2 separate regions of the Homo sapiens genome follow, and region 1 is linked to region 2. The links are contacts of gene promoters, found by promoter capture Hi-C in blood cells and fetal thymus (Javierre and others, 2016). All regions are on one chromosome and are shown on one strand. Each heading gives the region's core, a stretch centred on a gene start or on the middle of the fragment in contact. The rest is flanking DNA. Distances are from core to core; before and after follow the strand shown.

Region 1 (5,348 bases), core at 1,446-3,945, 250 kb before region 2:
GCCACTGGCTGCTGGCTGTTCCTACAACACTGGCGGGGTTAGGACCTTTCCCACTGAGTCTGGGAGGACAGCAGACCCAGGTCCTGTTGTCAGAGAAGGAGTCAGGCAGAACAGCCTAGCACTCCATAGTAAGAGCAGGGGGAGGAGGAGGAGGAATTCCCCAATTTCTGTGTCAGTGTGAGCCCTTTCTCCCCTCCCTCACACTGAGCCCCCAGAAGGGTGCCCCAGGCCTGTCGGGCAATAACAGAGAAAAGACAGCAGGCGGTGGTTCACACCTGTAATCCCAACACTTTGGGAGGCCGACTTGGGCAGATCACCTGAGGTCAGGAGTTCAAGACCAGCCTGGCCAACATGGTGAAACCCCATCTCTACTAAAAATACAAAAATTAGCCAGGTGAGGTGGTGGGTGCCTGTTATCCCAGCTACTCAGTGGACTGAGGCAGGAGAATCATTTGAACCCAGGAGACAGAGGTTGCAGTGAGCTGAGATTGTGCCACTGTACTCCAGCCTGGGCAAAAGAGCGAGACTCCACTTCAAAAAAGAAAAAAGAAAACAAAAGAAGGCAGCTGAGCGTGTCCAGGGATCAGCAGGTGGCATAGCCAGCACCAGGCTCAGAAGAGCTGCCCACACCATGTCCCCTGGGAGCCCCAAACTCAGGCACCACACACCCAAACTCCAGCCTTCATTGCCGGTCCTCCAGTGCTCAGATAGGGAAGAACTAGAGTAGAAAATGTAGCCCCAGGTTACTGGACAGATAGTGGATCTGGCTAGAGGCCAGGGGACCGCTGTACTCAGGGTGTGTTCCCCTCCCTGCCCCTCCAGCAGCCCAACTTGGCTTGACAGTAGGACCCAGTCCCTGACCTGGCCCTCCGAGCTGGTCAGGCAGAGTGAGGGCCTTCCCAGAAATATCACCTGCTTCTCACTCGTGGATGAGTTCAGTAGATATTTATTGAGACTCTACTATGGGCCTGGCACCGTGCTGGGTGTTGGGATACAGTAGTGACTAAAACAGACAGAATGTGGTGGAAGTGACATCCAAGGGAATCATCCCATCTTATTCATCTCTAGGTGGCCAGCTCCAGGCCCAGGGAGGGTTCTTGTCTGTGTTTGGTGAGCTGGGTGGAGATTCAACATATAACCCCAGACTGGCAGAGCTGGAAGGGCCCTGATGGTTCAGGTCCACTGTGCAGACACTTTCTGAGCACATGCACCGGGGCAGCTGGCCATGCTAGGCCTGTACAAAGATGGGTTAGACACATACCCCACCCATGGAAAGCTCACCCTTGGTGAGGGTGACAGCCATGACAGCCATTAAGCACAGTACAAAGGAGGGTCTGGTCCGAGGGGCTGTGCAGAGCACAGAGGCAGAGGGAGGAAGCTAACCTGCATTTTGCAGATGATAATAATAACTACCATTTATCGAGTGCTTCTGTGGTGCCAGGCCCCGTGCCCAGTGAGTTTGTATTTATTGGCTCATGTGGAAACTGAAGCCCTGGGAGGAAGGAACTTGCTCAGTCAGTCATTAGCGTGAGCTGAGCCAAAGTAGACCCTGACTTCTAGGGGTTCGGAGTGCAATATGTTCCTTCTCCCACTACCCCAGCCCCTGAGGATCAACCAACCTCCACAGATGCAGCAGAGAGAAAGCTTGGGATGGGGAGGGACTGGTCATCTCAGCATGGGGCTGTTCACTTACAATGTAAAGGACATTTTCAAGGCCATAGATTCCCAGGGTCATTACCTCGGAGGTGGTGCATCTCCTTCTCTGGCCCCTTACATATCCCTGATGGAGCAAGGCTGAAGTTCTGAGCCAGAGGTCCCCTGCCCTGCCCACAGATTCCATGACTTCCATGGGGACAGTGATGGCCCAGGGCTGAGTCTCTATGGTGTCTGGGCAGGGAAGATGGTGGGCACTGGGCCCCCGCAGAGTGTGCACGCTCTTGGTGGATGGCGGTTCTCTCGGTGGCTATCCCTAAGAGGCAAGGCAGAGTGGCCCAGCCTGGGAGCATGTGGATGGTGCCATGTGACTCACTCCCACTTCAATGACAACAGTATCTTTGCAGCTGGCAGCATGTGGCTGGGGGAGTCATTTGATCCTGAATATAGACTGGCATTGTGTTTGAGACCAGAGGGTGTAAGAAGCATGTCTGTACCACTGAGGTTTCATTCATGTCTCACACTCTGCTGGAAACCCTCCATGATTATCTCATTTAAGATGAAAGTGTGGATAATCTCTTGGGAGGGCAACAAACACCCGTGAAATAAAGCAAACAACGCAAGACAATGCTAAATGGAGAAGCAGGACAGTGTCATGGTTAGGCCCAGAGCACAACAGAAGGCTCTGCACCATGCAAATGGTACCCCCTTGAGTTGTGCAGTGTACAGTCCATGCAACTGTACAGGGGATCCTGATTAGGTCCACCGTCTATGGCATCATTAATTCAACACAATTTGGTGAGAGCTTACCATTTGTGTCCAGCACGATTCCAGACACTGGGGTTATAGCAGAGGACAAGACAGAGCACCACCCTGCATGGAGCTTACATTCTAATTTGAAGGTCAGAAAGACTAAGGGTTGCATCCTGGCTTTGCCGCTGTGTTAGTTAATCTCACTAAGCTTCAGTTTCCTCATCTGCAAAATGGACACAATGACCTGTACTTCGTAAGGTTATTGTGCTAAAAAATTGAAATAACACTTGGCTTCAGGTCTGACCCATGGGAAGCCCTCAGTAAATGACAGCCAGCATGATCACAAATGCTGTGGGAAGAAGGGCTTAGAAAAGCTTAGGGAAAAGGGGCCGGGCGCGGTGGCTCACGCCTGTAATACCAGCACTTTGGGAGGCTGAGGTAGGCAGATCGCCTGAGGTCAAGAGTTCTAGACCAGCCTGGCCAACATGGTGAAACCCTGTCTCTACAAAAATACAAAAATTAGCCGGGCATGATGGCAGGTGCCTGTAATCCCAGCTACTCGCGAACCTGAGGCAGGAGAATCGCTTGAACCCAGAAGGAGGAGGTTGCAGTGAGCTGAGATCGTGCCATTGCACTCTAGCCTGGGCGAGAGAGCAAGATCTCCCTCCATCTCAAAAAAAAATTTTTTTTTGGAAAGAAAAGCTGAGGGAAAAGGAAGACCACAAGATGTGAAGTGCACTAAATCGTCTCAGTGGGAGCAGGAGTTGGGGCGTCTCTTGAGGGGTGCAGAAGCCCAGAGGAGCAGGCCTTTCTAAAGACCGTGTCACAAGGAATGCAGGGAGGGGGCCAGTGAGGAGCCCCCTGATTTGGGGGCCATATTTTCCCAAACCAAGGGTTAGGACACCCATGATCTGGCAGAGAAGTTCTGTGTTTCTGTCAGAGAAGAAGTCTGGGAAAAGGTGGTCATCCAAATATTGGGATTGGGGGAGATAATCACCATTTTCATAGGACCTGAGACATCACATTTAAAATTGGGTCTGTCACACTTGAGAAGTGTGACCCCTGTAGGGTTGAGCAAACCAAAGAATAAGGTTAGAGGGCAGTTGGGGGTGGGAACAGGGTGTGCGTGCCCCTCGAGGGCCAGGCAGGTAAGTCAGATCTGATAAGACAGAGAAAGGGGAGCTGACTAAGTCAGGATTCCTGCTGCACACTGGCTGAGTGGCCCAAATCTCTGTCTCTAGGTCTCAGTTTCTGTCTCTGAAAAGCGGAGACATTGTTGAGGAGCAGAGATAACACAGATGTAGTTATCTGTTGCTAGCAACAGAAATCACCCCCAACCCCAGTCCTCTTATGCAGAAAGGGTTTAGGGGCTTCATAGATTTAAAGGGCTAGAGCTGGGACAGTGGAGAGCCAGACTTGGAACCAGATCAGCACCAAGACAGCTCCGGAGGGCCCAGTCCCAGCCCACCCTGGGTAGGAGTCTGATTGGCCAAACCCAGTCCCATGCCCCGTCCCTGGATAGCAGAGGACCCTGGGTAGGAGGAACCCCTGCTTCAGCTTTCATGGTAGGGCACTGCATCCCACCAGGACAGCCCACAGAGGGAGAGTCCTCCAAATCAGGAAGGGGGCTTGGATGCCCAACTGCCAAAAAATCCTGCAGATAGTTATGTATGCCATGGAAGATTCTGGAAGAGTTGCACAAGGAAAGTAATAATTATAGAAAGCCAATCTTGCTCTGGAGTTCGAGAAGAGACCAGCACCGTGGAGACCAATTAGAAGACTGGAGTGCCTCAGGAAGGCTATGGGCAGGGTGCACCTGGAGAGGAAGGAGCAGATGTAAAGGCGTTTGTGGGGATTAACCCATCAGAGGCCTCTGGGAATCCTCTCTGACTACAGAGAGGTACAGGGAGTCTCAGAGGCTTAGCAAGGGGCTCAGGATGTTTACAGCTGTCAGGGCTCTAAGAGATCACATGGCCGCAGATTGACATTCTCTGATCGACTGGTAGGGACTCCCTAGATGCTGTGCTGAGGACTGCTGGGCTCAGGCAGGACTCAGTGAGCGATTGGTAATGCCTGTTATAGATAGAGAAACCCCAGGAGGGGCAAGGATACCATGTTTATTATCCCTGCCCCCCAAAAATGCCTCACTTTTCGGAGGGAGAGACTGAGACCTAGAGAGACAGAGATTCAGGCCACTCAGCCAGTGTGCAGCAGAGCTGAGATGAAAACCCAGGTCCCCTGAATCCCAGAGTGCTGCCCTGCTGCTGTAGCAGTGCTTTAGTAATGCTCCCCAAATCCCAGGTGGGCTGGGCAAAAATCACAACTCAAAATGAGTTTCCTTTCACACTACAGGAGAGGTGTGTGGAATTGGGGTGTTACAGGAAGGGCACCTGGTGGGAGAGTCCTCTTTTCCCTCCTCGTTCCTTGGGCCAAATGGCGAACAGAAGGAGGGGTTTTTATAATTTTGGCAGCGGCCCATGCACACAGGAGAAGTTCTGGTGGGTCCTCTATTGAGAGGGCCCCTGGTATGGCAGAAACCCAGGCCTCTGGGCCAAAAAGCGAAGGGCAGACTTAGGAACCTGCTCCTGACCTTGACGGAGCTCCACCCGCCCAGGGTCCTCCATGCCTATATCTCTCTCTAGGCCACCCCCAGTTGGGATAGATTCCTCTAGGGAGGGGTTCCTGATGTTCAGGAAGGCCTCTGGTGGGGAGCCTGAAGGACGAAGGCCTGTTTGGGGTCCAGCCATGGGAAGATACTGAAGACCCCAGAGCTGACTCTCTTGTTGGTCCAGACCCCGCGTCCCCAGCACTCCCACCTGCTTGGAGAGCATGGCTCTGTGGCGGGGGAGGAGAAAGCCAATGCTAGTGATGACAGCCTCGAGATGGTGCAAGCACTGTCCTTTTCTTTTGATTTTCTGCCTAAACCAGAAATGTGCTTTTTC
Region 2 (5,804 bases), core at 241-2,740:
GCAGGCTGCAGGTCCCGAGCCCTGCCCTGCGGGGAGGCAGCTAAGGCCTGGCGAGAAATCGAGCACAGCAGCTCCTGGCCCAGGTGCTAAGCTCCCCCCAACTGCCCGTGGCCAGCGGGGACGGCCGGCCGCGCTGAGTGCCGGGCCCACCGAGCCCGCCGAGCCCACGCCCACCCGGAACTCGGGCTGGCCCGCAAGCGCCGTGCGCAGTCTCAGTTTCCGCCGGCGCCTCTAGTCTTGCTTCCCTCCAGTCCATTCTTCATGCTACAGGAAGAGTGAGTTTTCTGGAATACAAATCTAATCACAACCGTTCCCAGCTCAAAACCTAGCAGTACTCTAGTACTGGTGCCTCAGACTAAAATCCAAGCCCCTTGCTTCCTGAGGCAGAGATGAGTGTACGTGAATTTTTAAAAATAACCATACAGAAAAACAGATTCTTTGGGATGTGCAGTTCTGCGAATTTTTATTTTTATTTATTTTTTTGAGGTGGAGTCTTGCTCTGTCGCCCAGGCTGGAGTGCAGTGGCACGATCTCGGCTCACTGCAACCTCTGCTTCCCGGGTTCAAGTGATTCTCCTGCCTCAGTCTCCCAAGTAGCTGGGACTACAGGCGTGTGCCACCACCCACGCCTGGCTAATTTTGTATTTTTAGTAGCCACGAAGTTTCACTATGTTGGTCAGGCTGGTCTCGAACTCCTGACCTCAGGTGGTCCGCCCACCTCGGCCTCCCAAAGTGCTGGGATTACAGGAGTGAGCCACCGTGCCCGGCCTTCTGTGAATTTTAACACATGTATAGATTCTTGTGGCCACTGCCATCTATTAGTCCCCAAAACAACCTCATGCTATCCTTTCATAGTCGTACTCTCCCTCATCCCTACCCCTATCTTTTTAAGAAGGTCAAAGAAATGGAATGTGATCTTTTGAAAAACAAAAACACCCAAGCCCCTTAGGGCGTTTTTAATGCCCTTGCCTACCTCTCCTCCCTGTCCTCCAACAACTGCCCTCCCAAGCCCCACAATGCAACTCGCCGGAACTATGCTCAGTTCTTGGGGTGCTCCAAGCTGTCCTCCACTTAGCCAAGCTCCCCACCCGCTTCCGGGGGTGGGTTTCCACTGTGCACAACAGTACCTAGCGCTTCCCCCACTACAGCCCCCTTTCACGCTGTGGTAATTGCCAGGTTATCTGCCTCTCCCATTACAGTTCCTTCCTCACAGGGACCGCGTTTAAACCACGGCGGTATCCCTACCGCGCAGGATGGGCCGAGCCCCGCACGCCCCGAGGCAGCACCCCGCACGCAGTAGCCGGGCGTCGAGGCGTTCCCAGCCCACACCAGGCGCGGACCTACGAAGGCGGAGCGAGCATGCGCACTAGGAAGGGGCGGGGCGGGGCGCGCGCGATCCCCCGCCCCCTGCACGCGGTCCCAGGAGGGGCGGGCCTTGGCCGCTCGCTCTCCCCTCCCCCATGCCGCTGCGCTTGCGCGCTGGGGACAACCGTTGCTGGGTGTCCCAGGGCCTGAGGCAGGACGGTACTCCGCTGACACCTTCCCTTTCGGCCTTGAGGTTCCCAGCCTGGTGGCCCCAGGACGTTCCGGTCGCATGGCAGAGTGCTACGGACGACGCCTATGAAGCCCTTAGTCCTTCTAGTTGCGCTTTTGCTATGGCCTTCGTCTGTGCCGGCTTATCCGAGTGAGTGACGGGCCTGAGGAGGCAGCGGACCGGGGACACCCTGGGGGAACTTCCCGAGCTCCGCGACCTCGAAGCCTGGCCCTTCCTTCTCCCTGGTCCTACATGCCTCCCTCCCCCACTGTCCGGGGTCCTGGCCTCGACGCCGAGGGGTGTCCCTCTCCTCTCCTGGTCAGGGAACGCAGCAACTGAGGCGGCGCGGCCCAGATGAGACGGGAAGCGCCTGCGGGCCGTGGGCGCGGGTGGAACCCCCTCACCTCACCGGAGGCCTTCCTCTGCCCACCCGATCCTTCCCCAGCCATTGGGCGTGTGACCGTGCAGGGGTCGTGTGACAGCTGCTGGCCAGCTAGGAATGATTTTTACATTTTCTTCCTTTTTTTTTAATTATTATACTTTAAGTTCTAGGGTACATGTGCACAGCGTGCAGGTTTGTTACATATGTATCCATGTGCCATATTGGTGTGCTGCACCCATAACTTGTCATTTACATTAGGTATATCTCCTAATGCTATCCCTCCCCCCTCCCCCCACCCCACGGCAGGCCCTGGTGTGTGATGTTCTATTTTTGCATTTTCAAAGTAAATATGAAATGTACTCTTTCATGACTTGTGGAAAAGCATGACGCTCACATTTCATTGTTCGTGAATAAAGTTTTACTGGCACACCACCACGCTCATTCCTTTACGTATTGCCCATGGCTGCTTTCCCACGTTAGAACAACGGGGTTAAGTGGTTGCCACACAGTCTGGTCTGCAAAGACTGAAGTATTTACTCTCTGGCCCTGTACAGAAAAAAAGGTTGACCCGTACGGTAAAATTTGGAGAGCATGTGGATTGTGGGTCGCGGTCTGGGACACTCACCTGAGGATGCGCTCCCAGAGAGCATGCTTGCGCACACGGCATTCAAAGCCTTAGTTAAGCAGGATTATAACTTAAGACCTGCCAAGGAGCAATTTTTGTCCCTCCCCGAAAGCTGAAAACCAATAAGGTCAAATTCAGGGGTGCTAAGACTTTACTATATTAACAATATCATGTGGGCACCTTAAGGCACTTAGTATTTAAGTCAGGTAGGTGAGGCTTCCCCATTTAGTCTAACTGTAGTTCATTGTGGCATTTAGTAATGTTGGAGTTTGGTTTCACTTAAATCAATAAATACAATTTAACAGGTGTAAAAAAAGCGCTATCGTGCATGCTGATTATGCAAATCTATTTTTCAGAATTGCTAAACGATCTTAGTTAAAAATCAAATTTAAAAACTGAAAATACAACACAATCTAAATTATGAATAGTAATGGGAAAAGTTCTAGATGAAGTTCTAGGTAACTAAAGTTAGCTCTTTAAATACTAGCATTTATGATTTGTAGCTGTTTTTAATAAAAAGTTTTGTAAAATTTTTCTTCCTTGACATAGAGGACCAGAACATAATGAAGATGCTACTATCTTTTCTTGATGTCTGATGATCATTATTACTAACACCAGTTATTGCATTTTGGTAGTTGTAGATCAGCAAGTCACAAGTGACTAACATATATGGAGACTTTAACTGAAGTGACTTTAACACTGTCACACAGTACACTCTGGGACTGCTAGGTAGGAGTCCCTGGACACCCACTTAACTCAGTGCAGTCTCTTGCCTAACACCATAATTTTCCCCTCCCCCTCCCCTTCCCTTTTCCCCCCCTTTTTTTTTTGCCTGAGACAGGGTCTCACTCTCTAGCTCAGACTAGAGTGCAGTGGCCCGATCTCGGCTCACCGCAACCTCTGCCTCCCAGGCTCGAGGGATTCTCCCACCTCAGCCTCCTGAGTAGCTGGGATTATAGGCGCACGCCACTACCGCCTGGCTAATTTTTGTATTTCTAGTAGAGACGGGGTTTCACCATGTTGGCCAGGCTGGTCTCGAGCTCCTGACCTCAAATGATCCATCCGCCTCGGCCTTGCAAAGTGCTGGGATTACAGGCTTGAGCCACTGTGCCCAGCCAGCCTGTTGTCTTTCTTAGCACCCTATTCCCTAATCTTTCTTGGGAAGAAAGAAAAGGGTTGTAGGAAATGAAAAGACGCTTCCCAGAAAAAAGGAGTGATTTTGTGTTGAATATATAGATGTTATAAGACATAAGGAAACTATATACAGGTTGTAATCATAGAAGATGTCTTGGAATATGTAATTACCTTTCTTCTACAGAAGTGGATTAAGGAATATATAGAGCAGGCAGTGGTACATGGCTGCTTTCTCTGTATCTGTCTCTCTACTTTTTCTCTAATTTTAATTTTGTTTTTAAAATAAGTATACCAAAATGCGTATATCATTGAGCTTGATGTAAATCAGCTATGCATTCTTTTATATGGCCACTATTCAAACAATTGTTGGCGAGATGCAAAAGATAAGGTACATAGGTTTTTATAATGAAAAGTGCAGCTTTGACACATTTTTTCTAGACTACTAGACAGTTTTGAGGTTATTACGCAAACATCACGGGTGTATTAAGTAATTGCATTTATTGAAAACCTCAGTACTTCTTGTATCTGCCTATACCTTTCTAACAGGCCCAATCCAAGCTTAGCTAGTATTTGTTTAATCTAAATTCAGTTAGACATAAATGCAGCTTGGGTATACAGAAGTCGGCACTCCTTTACATACACACACACACATCCTGATGGTGCTGGAGAAACAACGTTTTACTATATAAAATTTTTATACATTCAGTTTCCTCTACCTGATTTTTCCATAGTTTTAAATACTTTGCCATTTTTAAATTTTTGAATGGGAAAGTATTTAATGTATTCCCTCTTTAATGTATTTGCACTGTGCAACTTACTTTACTTTTTAATGAGAATTCTTTTTGCTTTAAAAAAAAAAAAATGCACAGGCCGGGCACGGTGTCTTACACCTGTAATCCCAGCACTTTGGGAGGCTGAGGCGGGCAGATCACCTGAGCCCAGAAATTCAAGACCAGGCTGGGCAACATGGCGAAACCCCGTCTTTACAAAAAATACAAAAATTAGCCAGATGTGGTGGGGCAGGCCTGTAGTCCCAGCTATTCGGGAGGCTGAGGTGGGAGGATCACCTGAGCCCAGGAGGTAGAGGTTGCAGTGAGCTGAGATGGCGCCACTGCATTCCAGCCTGGCTGACAGAGTGAGACCTTGTCTCAAAAAAAAAAAAAAGCACAGTAACTTCTAAAGTAATATTAACATAATAGTTACATATTTAAATAATATCAACTACTATTAAAATTATATAATTGGCCTTTTTAAATTTTAAGTCATCAAATATTCATGGGCTGGCAGTGCAAACTAATTAAAATTAAAGTGTGTTAATATTAATTTAATATTAATATATGTTAATTTTTAAATGATTCAAACTTTGCATAATAAGTATAAATAAAATTAAAATATTAATTTTGGGGTATCTCCCAAATAAATTATTTCCTCTAGATCATCTCTTGGTATAGACTAGGAAAAATAGGGTTAGTCTAGGATTACAAAAGCTCTTATTTCTAGATTGGTATTATAAGAAGGCTCAATGTATCAGTCTTTGGCTTCTGTCATTGTGTTTAGGAAGGATTTTGTCCTAATGAACCACAGAAGGTAAGGGAAACAATAAGGCAGCAACCAGCAACAATTGTTTGAATCTATCACCAAATAAATTAAGAGGAAAAGAATATTCTTTTATTTCAAATACATTCTAAAGGTAAAGTTCACTGAGTTCTGGTGCTGCAAGTTCACTTAGCTAGTGCCCAAGGCTACAGCATTTAAAAGGTCTCTCAAACCTGTGAATAAACTGTCATGACACACTTTGTTAATGTTTGAGATAATGAGGAGCATGTCATCCAATAGGCAAGTGTCAAGAGAGTATTCTGTGGGGGAGTAGCAGGAAGTTTCATTAGCCTGTCCATTGATGTTTTATGGGGGAAAAAAGTCCTGTCTTTCTGTTCTGTTGATCATATTATCCCTTAAATGGATATACTTTAATCTCTTGATAATATATGTGAAATTAAACTTAAGCAACATTTTTTATCTCCAAATAAAATACTAGTTATTTGAAAAGAAAATATTTTCTTTTTTTTTTAGTATCACTATATATTTGAAGCATTTTAAAAACACACAATTTATTTAACCTAAGTATAGTTT

The links. The method cuts DNA at HindIII sites, captures the fragments that hold promoters and counts their contacts. A CHiCAGO score of 5 or more calls a contact.
Region 1: a fragment that was not itself captured here is called in contact with the fragment with the promoter of SPESP1 in region 2 in 2 of 17 cell types (naive B cells and fetal thymus); the score reaches 6.0 in naive B cells.

Annotation. Positions count from the first base shown.
Region 1 is chr15:68,678,139-68,683,486 of GRCh38, forward strand. All of the region lies in intron 2 of CORO2B (coronin 2B), which reads left to right. Among named protein-coding and RNA genes, the nearest start is that of CORO2B, 100 kb to the left of the region's middle. The HindIII fragment of the contact is 166 bases long and covers 2,613-2,778 here.
Region 2 is chr15:68,929,035-68,934,838 of GRCh38, forward strand. It overlaps SPESP1 (sperm equatorial segment protein 1), which reads left to right and starts at 1,491. Exons shown (of 2, transcript NM_145658.4): 1 at 1,491-1,683. The coding sequence starts at 1,620. It overlaps SPESP1-NOX5 (SPESP1-NOX5 readthrough), which reads left to right and starts at 1,491. Exons shown (of 17, transcript NR_033672.2): 1 at 1,491-1,683. The HindIII fragment of the contact is 10,282 bases long and covers 1-4,230 here.